Linked DNA regions of Homo sapiens: region 2 is linked to region 1. Evidence: promoter capture Hi-C in human tissues and cell types (Jung and others, 2019). All regions are on one chromosome and are shown on one strand. Each heading gives the region's core, a stretch centred on a gene start or on the middle of the fragment in contact. The rest is flanking DNA. Distances are from core to core; before and after follow the strand shown. Region 1 holds the start of HEYL (hes related family bHLH transcription factor with YRPW motif like). Region 2 holds the start of PPIE (peptidylprolyl isomerase E).

Region 1 (6,316 bases), core at 2,000-4,499:
GTAACTGGGACTACAGGCACGTGTCACCATGCCCAGCTAATTTTTTGTATTTTTAGTAGAGATGGGGTTTCACCATATTAGCCAGGATGGTCTCGATCTCTTGACCTCGTGATCCACCCACCTCAGCCTCCCAAAGTGCTGGGATTACAGGCGTGAGCCACCGTGCCCGGCCTCTAGTGGCTTTTAATCTGGGGCTTTTGCCAGTGCACCCCATATATACATCATCCCGTCATGTAGATCTCAGAGCCAGTGCTTTTTGTTCTATACTGCACTTCCACATCCATTTGTCTAATTTATTGCACAATAGCACTGTAAGTGAAGTATTTTTTGGGCCATTTCACATTTAGGAAAAATAATCATTTTACAGGTGGAGTGACAGAGACACTGGAGTTAAGAATCACTCCAGTAAGTCCAGTCTTCACACTTCCGGTCTTTTCATTAGACCATGCTGTCTCATAAATATGTTGCCCCCCAACTGAATGGTGACCGCTTTGACAGCAACGTTTATTGGAAGTTACTTTGTGCCAAAGCAGGGAGCTATGTAACTTTATGTATGTTACTTCATCAAACCTTATCCTGCGAGGCAGGAGTGCTAATGTATTCCCATTTTGAACGCGAGAAAACTGAGGTTCAGAAAGGGGTAAAAGTCACTGGCCAAAGTTAATGGTGGTAAAATTCAAACTCAGGTCTATCTGACTCCAAGACCACCACCTTATATTGTGCAGGAACAGGACCCTGATCCAGTGTCTGACATGTGGCAGGTGCTCATTAGATGTTTGCAGAGGGAGAGGAGAGGCTGTACTCTCAGTTTGGACTCATCCTGCGTCATGGGGCCAGGTTGAGATGAGAGCTCTGTGGGTGAGTTTCACAGATGTGGCAGGACTGCCACCAGGCAGATGCCACAGTGATGGTGGAACACACCCTGCTCTTTACTCTCACGTTTCTGAGTGTGGGGGTTTTGCGCCCTGCCCCTGACCCCGAGAGGCTGGCTGCCTCCGTCCTGCGGCCTTTGTCAGTGTTTATCTGCTTTCTTTGTACATGAAGCTCTTCTTCCCTGAGAGTTCCCTGAGGGCAGAGGCTGAGCAGGATACATCTGGGCCCCCTATGCCCAGCCCAGGGTCTGGGCCACAGCAGGCATCGTTCAGTGCTCCCTGAATTGAAGCATTGATGTCTGCTGGGGGAAGGGCCCTTTGGTGAGTGCTACAAAGGGGCATCTATAAGTCAGCCTCTGCCAGATGTCCAGCTGCTTTCTCTCCTCAGAGGGGTCTGCTCCTCTAAGAACAGTGTCTAAAAATGGGCTCTGTATATATAGGAAATGCTGTATGTATAGGAAAAAACTGCCCACTGATCCTTTATGCCTCATGTAAGCAGTTGCCCAGATGCTACTATCTTCAAGAAGCCCTCCTTGCCATCTTTGATTAAGAGTGACCTCTCTTTGCTTAAGTGCCCTCACAGCCCACAGTCTGTCTCCTTTCCATCCTGTCCATGGTGTTTTTATGACCTGGCAGGTCACTGACTGGGCTGCAAACTTGTGGAGGACAGAAGCCAGCTCTGATCAACCTAGTTCTCTGGCATCAATTTTGTGCCTCTGATCTATGAAGACCCAATGCCATTGAATTTGAGACCCCGCTCCACCACCACCACGTGGTGCTGTGCCCTTTCCTGGCCCTTAACAGGCACAGGCTAAGATAACTGCTTTTCTAAATAGCAGTTTCTGCTAAACAATTAAGAAAGGCTAATACGTTGCATAGCGAGTTGTGTTATACTCCCTAAAAACAAATGTACAGGCTGCAAGAGGAATATCTATTATGGCATTTTCCTGGGATTTGAGACTGAGGCAGGATCCTTGGATCTCAGAAAACTGGAGAGCACTAAAATTACAAAATGTCCTCAAAAACATCCCTAAGAATTAACTGGGCCTGGCTCACTGGCTTATGTCTGTAATCCCAACACTTTGGGAGGCCAAGGCAGGAGGATCACTTAAGCCCAGGAGATCAAGGTTGCCATGAGCTATGATCATGCCACTGCACTCCAGCATGGGCAACAGAGTGAGACCATGTCAAAAAGAAAGAAAGAAAGAATTAACTGAATTCCCCTCCAATTCTGTTCTAGAGAGTCAAGTCTAGATGAGCCAAGAGAGATGAAGTATATCCCTTTCTTTTCCACTGCTGTCTTTGTTTTACTGATGGGGAAACTGATGACAGACTCTGTCAGGGAAACCAATGGCCCAAGACCACATAGTGAGTTGGTGGCAGATTTGGGGCTGGGACCCAGGTCTGCAGACTCCCAGTCAGCCCTGCAGCTCTTTCAGGGTGCTGGGAATCACATGGTGTGTACCTAGGCATGTGCTGTGCTAAGCCCTTGACATACTTTGCCTCATTTGGTTTTCCCAATATTTCCATGAAGTTGGTTCTATTATTCATGCTCATTTAACAGATAAGGAAACTGAAGCTTAGACAGTTTACAGAACTGCGAGGTAGCAGAACTATACAAGCGCAGTTTGTTCGACAGGTTTGAAGCAGGTCAGACTATCTACCAGGAGCTGAAAGACACTGGCAGTATGGGGGCACGATAGGAGGAACATTGGAATTAGAGTCTAGGCCCTTGCAAGTCGCTTATTATTTTCTTCAATACTAAGTCCCTAAATCCAAACTCCAATTTGCTCAAAGGAGGACAAATTTTCTTCTTCCTGAAATAATTTGTGGACTACATGAAAACTGCATCCAAACTAGGGTAAAATTGGGAAAGGATGGGGTTACTCTGCATCGTCAGCAGATTCCAGACAGGGGCCAGAGTACCATCAGTCTATGAGAGTTTTCTAAGATCTCCAGGGAAAACCTGCCAATGGCCTCCCCTAGGCCACTTCAACAGATAGATGATAACCCACTAGCCACCTGATCCCCCGAGCTGAACTCTCCCTCCCTGCCAGCATCCCCAGCCCTGCACGACCGAGAGCGCGCAGGATCCAGGCACTCGTGCGTGTAACGGCACGGCCCGCACACGCCCCCTACGCCGACACCTGTGGCCCCCGCGCTCACCTGCCTCTGCCCAGGCGGTGCTGGAGGGCTGGCCCGCCTGCTCGGCGAGCCCGTCGGGCCGACCCCCACCCCGCTCGCCCTCCGCCTGCTCGGTCCCCGCATCCCGGCCCTTACCTCAGCTGGCCCTCTTGGCCCACGTCGATGGGTCCGTCGGACTCCCCGTCGGAGCCGCTCGGCTCCTTGGGTCGCTTCATGGCGAACGCAGGCTGCCTGGTCTCAGCCCCGCGGCTAAGGCTCCCAGTCGGGAAGTCAGGCCCCGCCCCGGCCCCGCCCCGGCCCCGCCTCGGGGGCGCCGCCACCGCCCTTTCCCAGGGCCCTTTCCTGCGCCGCAGCTCCGGGCGCCCAGGCGCCCCCTCGCCCCCGCGGTGACGCGCCGCCGAGCCGTGGGAAGGCCCTAGGCGGTCGCCGCCTTCATCGACGGCTGGGAGGTCCGGCTCTGCTCCGCTGTCTCGGCTGCCGCGCGCTGGGTGGCCTTGGGCAGGTGCCCTGGGAGGCCCCGCGGGGAAGCCAGGAGTCCCCGTCTGTCCCTGGGTCGCCTGGGCGCTGCTGGCCTGTAGAGGCGCCGCTTCGATGCCCGGGATTCCGCAAGGGTCAACCCTGCGCGCTCCTGCCTCCTGGTGTTCTGGAGGCAGCAGACACATCAAGTTTGTCGAAGTTAGTCGTGGTGGTTGTGGCCTGATCCTCAGCAAGAATTCCCCAGCAGCAACTCCATAGGGGCCCAAAGCAAGTGGAATAGTGTGGTGGGGGCAAGGGGAAGACACTTACACTTCTGAGAGGTGGCAGTCACCCCCAAAAGGGACGGCTGAAGTTGTGGCCACCGCATCTGAGAAAGCTGGGCTCTGGCCGAGGTCCCTAAAGGCCTGGCGTGGTGGCAGTGGTGGGTTGTCCCTGGGAATCAGTTCCCAGTTCACCAGAGGTCGAGTTGTCCTGGGCGGCCAGGAGGCCAGGAAAGGGCTCCTTCTAGACGCTATGGCAGGGCCTCAAAGTGGGAGAAGGAGAGGAAAAGGGAAGATACCTTCCAGCCTCTCTTCCTGGGGCCTCTGCTTCTGGCAACCCATCAAACTGTTCACTCAGGGAGGGCTCTAGCTGCCCTGTCCTTAGGGGGACTTGTGGGAAGTTCTCAGATTCACCGGTCATCCTCAGGCGCCCAGTACCTCAGAGAAGCTCCTAAGGCTCCAAAGGAAGCTGCATGAGAGCATCCTGGAGCTGGACTTCTTGGGCAGGGAAGAGGAGATAGAGGAGGTCTTGGTGTGCTGGGTTAGATATGAGAGGTCTTTTCCTTTTTACCCGCCACCAGGTCAGGACCTGAGGGAAGCCACCCCTTCAAGTGGGAGAATCGGGTTGGTCATCTGAGAATAACTGTGCTTCCATCCCCACAGCAAGGCCTGCTTGCTGGGGGACACTTGATTACTTGATGGGAAAGAATGTTCCTGTGCCCCCGTCCACACACATCCACAGACACAACCATTTGGCCAGGTATGCAAACACATACACACGGACAGACTTACAAATATATACTGGTAGGCGCAACTGTCGTGAGCAATCAGTACCAGGAAGCCCTGGTGGTCGCCCCAGCCACAACTATGGACTCTCATTCCAAATGCCCTCAGCACTCACATCACTTCTGTGGGCACATGCCAGTCAGTGGAAACCTCAACTAACAGAGAAGTTGCACAATGTGTTATGCATTCCCTGGAAAGGCGGAAGTCAAGGAAGCCTCCCAGATAGCTGCCCTGTGTAATTGGCTGAGATAGCAAAGATTGGAAGAGGAGCAGATTTGCAGGGGAAGGTCAAGGGCCCCGTGATGGACGTTTCATGTGAGATGTCTTGGATCATCAAAATACAGTGCACAGTTAAATAGAGGGTATGGAGTTCAGAACAGAGGTCTCAGCTGGATATTAAATTTGGACGTCATTAGGTAATTGATGGCATTTAAAGCTATGGGAGCAGATGGGATCATTCAGAAAACGTGGATGGAGACAGAGCAGGGGCCTAGCTAAATACTTAACATTTGGTGAGCCCTTATTATAAAACCTGAAACTATTCTAAGTCTTTTGTAAATATTAACTCATTTAATCCTTGACAACCCTATAAAGTAGTAATATTATAATCCCCACTTTACAAGTGAGAAACAAAGGCTGAGAGGTAGACTAACTCCACCTAAGGCCAACAGGCAATAAATGGAAGGGCTGGAATTCAACAAGGCAGTTCAGTTCCAGAGCCAAAACATTAGGCTTTATTACTTTATACAGTACTCCCCCTTCTTTTAAAAATAAAGACAAGGATTCACTCTGTCACCAGGCTAGAGTGTAGTGGTGCCATCGTAGCTCACTGAAACCTTGAACTCCTTGGCTCAAGTGATCCTCCCACCTCAGCCTCCTGAATAGCTCAGACTACAGGGGCATACCACCATGCTCAGCTAATTAAAAAAACAACATTTTGCCAGGTGTGGTGGCTCACGCCTGTAATCTCAGCACTTTGGGAGGCTGAGGCAGGCGGATCACAAGGTCAGGAGATCGAGACCATCCTGCCTAACACGGTGAAACCCCATCTCTACTAAAAAATACAAAAAATTAGCCAGGCGTGGTGGCAGGCACCTGTAGTCCCACCTACTCGGGAGGCTGAGTCAGGAGAATGGCGTGAACCCGGGAGGCGGAGCTTGCAGTGAGCCAAGATGGCGCCACTGCACTCCAGCCTGGGCGACAGAGTAAGACTCCGTCTCAAAAAAAAAAAAAAAAAAAAAAAAATTTTTTTTGGTAGAGATGAGATCTCACTATGTTGCCCGGGCTGGTCTTCAACTCCTGGGGCCAAGCAATCTTCCCACCTTGGCCTCCCAAAGTGTTAAGATTACAGGAGTAAGCCACTACACCCCGTCAATTATACAGCTCTTAAACATTGTGATATATTATCCAGTACTGAGCCTAGAGCTATGCCATCAATATAATAGCCACGAACCCCCTATGGCTATTAAGTACTTGAAATGTGGCTGGTCTGAATTGCTGTATGTGCAGTGAGTATGAAATACACACCAGAATTTTTTTAAGTGTGAACTATCTCATTGATATTTTTTGTTATGATTACATGTTGCAATGATAATATTGTATAAATATTGGATGAAATAAAATACATTAGTAAAGTTAACTTCCCTTGTTTTATTTTTAGGTTTTTAAAAATGTGACTACTAGAAAATGTTAAACTGCATATTTGGCTCCCATGATATTCCTATTGGATGGTGCTAATCTGGTGCAGGGTTTCTTAACCTCAGGACTACTGGCATT
Region 2 (6,316 bases), core at 2,408-4,907, 100 kb after region 1:
ACAGCACTCAGGATATTCCAATGATTTTAGAAGCTCTGTGCCAGGAACTAGGACAAAGACCAAGTATCTATTTTTTATTATACCACACCACATAAAGGACGCCTGGTCAGATTCTTCCTGAGAGTGACCTTTTGTTTTGGAATAGTGACGGGTACACAAAGAGCTCTCCTAATCAGATCTCACAGCCTCATTCCTATAAGTATCAACTCCCTGGTTTGGCATGAGGTTGGTAAGGTCAGCTGTGTGCGCAGCCACTGCTTAGCTCTGGGAATACAATGGGTACAGGCCGTGGTGTCAAATACCTTCATCTACTGGGAGAGAGAGACATACCTGACTATAGTTATAGGGTGTATTCCAATTGACTTCTGAACTTGGGGACTATGGACTCTGTCTATAGGGGATTTGGGTGAGTGAAGCTTAACTAGGACCTCTGACAAGGACTGGTGGGTGCCTCCAGATGGAGAAAAGAAAGAACTCAATGAGCAAAAGCAGAGGCAAGGAAAAAGAGCCCATGGTAAGTAGGTGAGGAACTGATGTGGAGGTCAGGGTTGACTTGAGGTAGGCATGGACCCCTTGTCAAGGACCTTGTTAGCAGCATCAGTGATTTAGGTAGGGAGTTCTAGAGAATTTAGGTTTATTTTGAAGAAAGATAACCCTAGGCCGGGTGTAGTGGCTCACACTTGTAATCCCAGCACTTTGGGAGGCCGAGGCAGGAGGATCGCTTGAGTCCAGGAGTTTGAGACCAGCCTGGGCAACATGGCAAGACCCTGTCTCTAAAAAAAAAAAAAAAAAAAAAAAATTAGCTGGGCATGGTGACGTGCACCTGTACTCCCAGCTGCTACTCGGGAGGCTAAGGTGGGAGGATCATTTGAGGCTGGGAGGTTGAGGCTGCAGTGAACCATGATCATGTCACTGCCTTCCAGCCTGGGTAAGAGAGCAAGACCCTGTCTCAAAGAAAAAAAGAAAAAAAAAATCACCCTGGACAAGTGGATTGGAGGAACAGAGCCACTATCAACTCTTCCTTAGTCTACTACATTAACTTCCTGGTCTCCTGGGTTCCAATCAACCCATCCTGGGCCTAGTGTCAGAGCACTGTCTAAAATGATGTGAGCATGTAACTCTCCTGTTGTAACTTCAGCAGCTTCTCAAAGCTCCCAAATCTTCCAGAAGGCTTACAGCACCCTCATGATGTGGCCCTCTGCCTACCTTTCCCACCTGATATGCCCTCCACCCCACCATCCCAGGCTCTGGTCTTTTAGTTCCTTGAGTGTGCGGAAGCTGCCTCCTCCTCTCTCTGGCTCCTTTTCCTTCAGAATTCAGCTTAAATGTCACCTCAGGAAGGTCTTAACCCCCTGCTCCATATAAAATAGATGGTCCCATTATTTCCTACCACTATGTCAACCTGTAATTTATATATTAGTGGGTTTAGTCCAAGATGTTACTCTAAACTGCACCATTTTGTAAGCTCCCTGCTATTCTGCAGACCTTGGTCAAAGTGAAACATTTCACAGGGGTTTGGGCTGTGAGAAACATCCTGCCTAACCACCCGACCACAAGGCAGACAAAGGCCCAACTAAAGAAACATCCCTCTCATATCTTCCTGGGCAAAGGTCCAAGGGACACCATGATGACATCCCACTGGAACAAGGGCCAAACCGCCTCATCATGAGAACATCTTTATATCAATATCCTGCTAGGCAGCAACCCATACTGCCCAGACCCCTACCGCCCATACCTATAAATTGCCCAGTCTGTAAGCAGTGGTGGGCACTGGCATTAGGCTGGTTCCCCACTTCTGTAGGTTATTATGCTGGACATAAAGCCTGCGTTTGCTGTCGAGCCGCCCTCTTTCTGTGTGTGTGTGTGTGTGTGTGTGTGTCTTTCTTTAACCCTTGCCTTCTTTTCAAAACCTAACACGAGTAGACAAACGTTCTTTCTGAAGAGCCAGATTGTAAATATTATTGTAGGCTTTGCAGGCTATAGCTCTTCTGCCCTTGTAGTAGGAAAGCAGCCACAGTCATACTTAAAGGAATGAGCGTGGCTGTGTCCCCATAAAGCTTTCTTTACGGACACTGAAATTTTAATTTCACATAATTTTCATGTGCTAAGAAAATATACATATATATTTTGTGAGATGGTGTGTCGCTCTCGTCACCCTGGCTGGAGTGCAACGGCGCGATCTCTGCTCACTGCAACCTCCGCTACCTGGGTTCAAGCGATTCTCCAGCCTCAGCCTCCTGAGTAGCTGCGATTACAGGCGCCCGCTACCACGCCTGGCTAATTTTTGCATTTTTAGTAGAGACGGGGTTTCACCATGTTGGCCAGGCTGCTCTCGAACTCCTGACCTCAGGTGATCCGCCCGCCTCAGCCTCCCAAAGTGCTGGGGCTACAGGCATGAGCCACCACGCCCGGCCAAGAAAATATAGTTTTTTTATTTTTTCCAACTATTTCAAAAGGTAAAATTCATTCTTAGCTCCCAGGTTGTCCAAAAACAGACGCGCAGGATGGCCAAGCACCAGAGTTTATCGTTTGCCCATAATAATCGGGTTGATTCGGCCAAGGTTTCCCTCCCCCAACACGGTGCGCACTGGGAAGCGCGAGGACCACGTCCCTTGGTTTACCACTGCGCACCTCACAAGGCGCCCAGTGCATCCGGGTAGCGGGATGCCGGTTGGACCAACGCGAGGGTGGGCGGGGTCTAAGAGCTAAGCGTTGGGGGCGGGGCGGGACAGTGGGGAAGAGGACGGGTCGAGTGCTGGCTTCCGGCGGAAAAGCGCGCGAGCAAGATGGCCACCACCAAGCGCGTCTTGTACGTGGGTGAGCAGGAGGGGTTGCTAGGCGGAGTCTGAGTGAACGCGACCCCCAAGGGTCGGGGCGTGGGGTGGGACGCATCTCTGAACCAGGAGGACGGCGAGCTGCTGTCAAGGCCGGGTCTCTGGCGGTAGTGCTGGCGATAGCTCTGGCTGTGCTTAAACTCCTTCCAAGGTTTCCCACTGTCCTCAGGAAAAAGTGCAGACTTCTTAGCAGTACGCACTTCTCCAGCTTCTTTGCTTTGCTTCCCGATTCGCTGGGTCTCCCGAAAAATGACCCACTTGCCCCCAAGGTTCAGGTTATTTCACACCTTTGGGCCTCTGCTTTTGCGACTCCCTTGCAGTGAACAGCCTTGCCACACACCTCAGGTGCGTGAACCCGAGACGGAATGATTATTCTGACTTCCTAGCCCGCTGAGCTCCAGCGGGCCCCGAGGAGCGGTAAAGGAGTATTATGGCCCTTCGGATCCTCTCGTTCATTTGTTTTACAAACATTCAGTGCAGCGACGGCTCAGCCCCAGCCCCTGCCATAAAGGAAGGAGTTCCCAGACTAGCCAGAAAAAAAGTGGAATTACCTCAGTAGCACACTTTTGATAAGCGCTGTAGTGAGGATGGATCATGATAATATGGGCCTGGCTGCGGGACAAATGACCCATCCATCTGGAGAAGCGAGGGCAAATTCTGGATGCGGCGATGCCAGAGCTGATGAGCAGGAGTTAGCTACGTAACCGAAGCAGAGGCAAGGCCGTTCACTGCAAGGGAGTCGCAAAGGTGTGAAATAGCCTGACACTTGGGGGCAAGTGGGTCATTATTCGGGAGACCCAGGAAATTAGGAAGCAAAGCAAAAAAGCTGGAGAGGTGGGTACTGCTAAGGAGTTTGCACTTTATCCTGAGGACAGTGGGAAGCCTTTGAAGGAGTGTAAGCGAAAAGTTACGGGTTCAAATTTGCATTTTCCTAAGATCATTCTAGTTGGCTTTGTGGAGTTGATGGAATGGAGGCAGGGAGGTCAGTTGTGAAGCTATTGCAGTAATCCCAGGACTAGATGAGAGTCTGAAAGAAGGGCGAAGAGAGGAATATTTTTCATAAGTATGGGTGGGCAGAGATGAGAGGGGGATGTTTGTTTACCCAAAGAACTGAATGGAAGGGTCCTGTCCCCTGGCTAGCATGCTAACTGGGCTGCAAGGACTTCTGCAAGAGTATGGAGATCAGTGGCTCAGAAGGCCCTTGGCTTATTTGCAGGTGGACTGGCAGAGGAAGTGGACGACAAAGTTCTTCATGCTGCGTTCATTCCTTTTGGAGACATCACAGATATTCAGATTCCTCTGGATTATGAAACAGGTGAGTTAGTGTCTCTCACGTTCAGAATCCTCTTACTAGGAAAATACCTTAAAAAATTAAAGTCACATCACAATTCTAAATATGCATTCTAAATATGGTTAGTATACACTACAGGTAAGTTCAGGAAGGTGTCTGGTGACAGTGATCTCGATGGAGAAGGAATGTTCTGAGGCCATGTGGTTGTGAACTCTGAATACTTTCCAGAGTCTTCAGCTGTTGGGTTGAGATAAGACAGATTTTTCAATAGACCAGTAGGGAGATAGGTTTGAACTACATTGAGATTTGAATGTTGTTTTAATCTACCTGATGGGTACCCCATCCCACCTGCACCTTCTTGCAGCTGTGCTATTAAATGAGGCAGCGGGAAAGCCTAGCCCCATAATGGGGGTGGGTGAGGGCGGGGGTTCTTGGCCTCTGCACCCCTGGGTGGGTTTCCCATCGATTGGTATCACAACCACAGTTCAGTTTTCTGTTTACCTTTGTTGTCATTTTTAAGATTATAGTTTTAGGCCTAGTTTTATCATCAACCTTGCATATGATTGTTAGCAAAGTCTTTAAACTCTCTGGGCCTGGGAAATCTTTATTTGCAAAATGATAAGGTTATGTTGGCTTTCTAAGGGCCTTCTAGTCTCTGAGTTCTATGATAAACATTATTGTGCTTGGTCTTTCTAGTTAGTTCAGCATTTTCCTGAAGATAAAGACTGAGCATCTTTATCAGGTTTTAGGATTCATGCTTTATGCACAGTTGATGCGCAAAATATATATTTAGATAGATAATTGATAGGTCAAATGACTTTATTTTTCTAATTGCTTTGCATGCAATGGTTAAGGTTTTAAGTTTGGCTTTCGTAGAATAATTGAATACTTATCAATTAAAAATACAGTTTACTATTCAGCTATGTCCATTAAAAAAACAAAGTTTATTATTGCTTAAAATATTGTATAAGAAGAATCAAGAATGAGATTCCTTCTTCCTAAATAGTGATTGGATAGAACTTCTGGTGTTTGGATACGACATGTAACTGACTTCACTTTGTGACCATCCTGTTTCTTCCCACTACCCCACATAGTAATTACTTGTTTTTGTTTTTCCATTTTGTAGAAAAGCACCGAGGATTTGCTTTTGTTGAATTTGAGTTGGCAGAGGTGAGAGTCTGTGTTACTAGTGTCTAGTCCTTGGTTTGTGATGTTGTTACTGATTACAAAGGAAGCTTTTCACCATTTGGTTAGGTTTTTGGGCCTTAGGCTGATGCTTCCAGAGAGATCAGAAGTAAGTGCTGTTCTAAGGAAAGCGTCTCTCACATAATCAGACTGGACTGTGAATAACATGTCAGACCTGCCAGGCCCTCCCATTCTTGCCCTGCAGAGGAGCTAGCTCATGCACCCCTGTTCATTGAGCATTCTTGCCTGGAAGTAGTGATTATTTCTTGTGCCTTCAACTAGATGGCAAATTGTTGCACCACCAGCTCTAAAATCAGCCAGGAAGTGCTCTTTGTTAGAAACACACAAAACCTAGGCAAGAAATACAGAGGTGGCATTTTTCTGGATTTTTGCTACTGAGCATGTGTTTAGACACCATAAGAAGCATTTGGCTGCAAGCCTAAACTTGTACCTTTGTCTTTCCTTGGCAGGATGCTGCAGCAGCTATCGACAACATGGTATGGCTGGGAATCTTAATTCTAACTAAAGTTGCTTTTTGGTGGTACAGAGGCTCCTTATTCATATATCAGTGTTCTGGACTTCCAAAGTTACAAGGTTGCATGGGGAGGTAAAAATTCTCACATGAAAATATTCACTGTGAATTGATCACTTATAAAATTAGTTCTTACTCAGACTCCTTCGCCATTTCAGAATAATGTAAGTCCTCATCATCCTTGTTGACCAGTCTCTCACTGGCTCTCCCATGTTTAGGATAATTTGCAGACACAGTGCAAATTGATTGCACGGTGTAACTGCATATTTTGCAAAATAGCAGGATTTCATGAAGTGTTAGACCAATTTACAATTGAGAAGAGAAATTTAATTATGGCAGGTGCAAATCACTGATACAAATGATTTGGATATTCTGGAAAGGTCCTTGGGAAAAATGATGATGCTCTTTAGTATTTGTGCCTTCCTTGAGATCCTTTTAGTTTTCATGTCTGATAAGAAGTGCAAAGATACCATA

The links. The method cuts DNA at HindIII sites, captures the fragments that hold promoters and counts their contacts. A contact is called where the count stands out against the background at its distance.
Region 2: a contact is called between a fragment that was not itself captured here and the fragment with the promoter of HEYL in region 1, in 2 of the 25 tissues and cell types used here (H1 embryonic stem cells and psoas muscle).

The regions. Positions count from the first base shown.
Region 1 is chr1:39,636,394-39,642,709 of GRCh38, forward strand. It overlaps HEYL (hes related family bHLH transcription factor with YRPW motif like), which reads right to left and starts at 3,250. Exons shown (of 5, transcript NM_014571.4): 1 at 3,153-3,250. The coding sequence starts at 3,232. RefSeq lists silencers at 3,027-3,096, 3,217-3,606. The HindIII fragment of the contact is 11,489 bases long and covers 1,035-6,316 here.
Region 2 is chr1:39,736,115-39,742,430 of GRCh38, forward strand. PPIE (peptidylprolyl isomerase E) reads left to right here and starts at 2,768. Exons shown (of 10, transcript NM_006112.4): 1 at 2,768-2,817; 2 at 4,051-4,149; 3 at 5,252-5,295; 4 at 5,781-5,807. The coding sequence starts at 2,787. RefSeq lists an enhancer at 2,816-3,025. The HindIII fragment of the contact is 4,843 bases long and covers 1,237-6,079 here.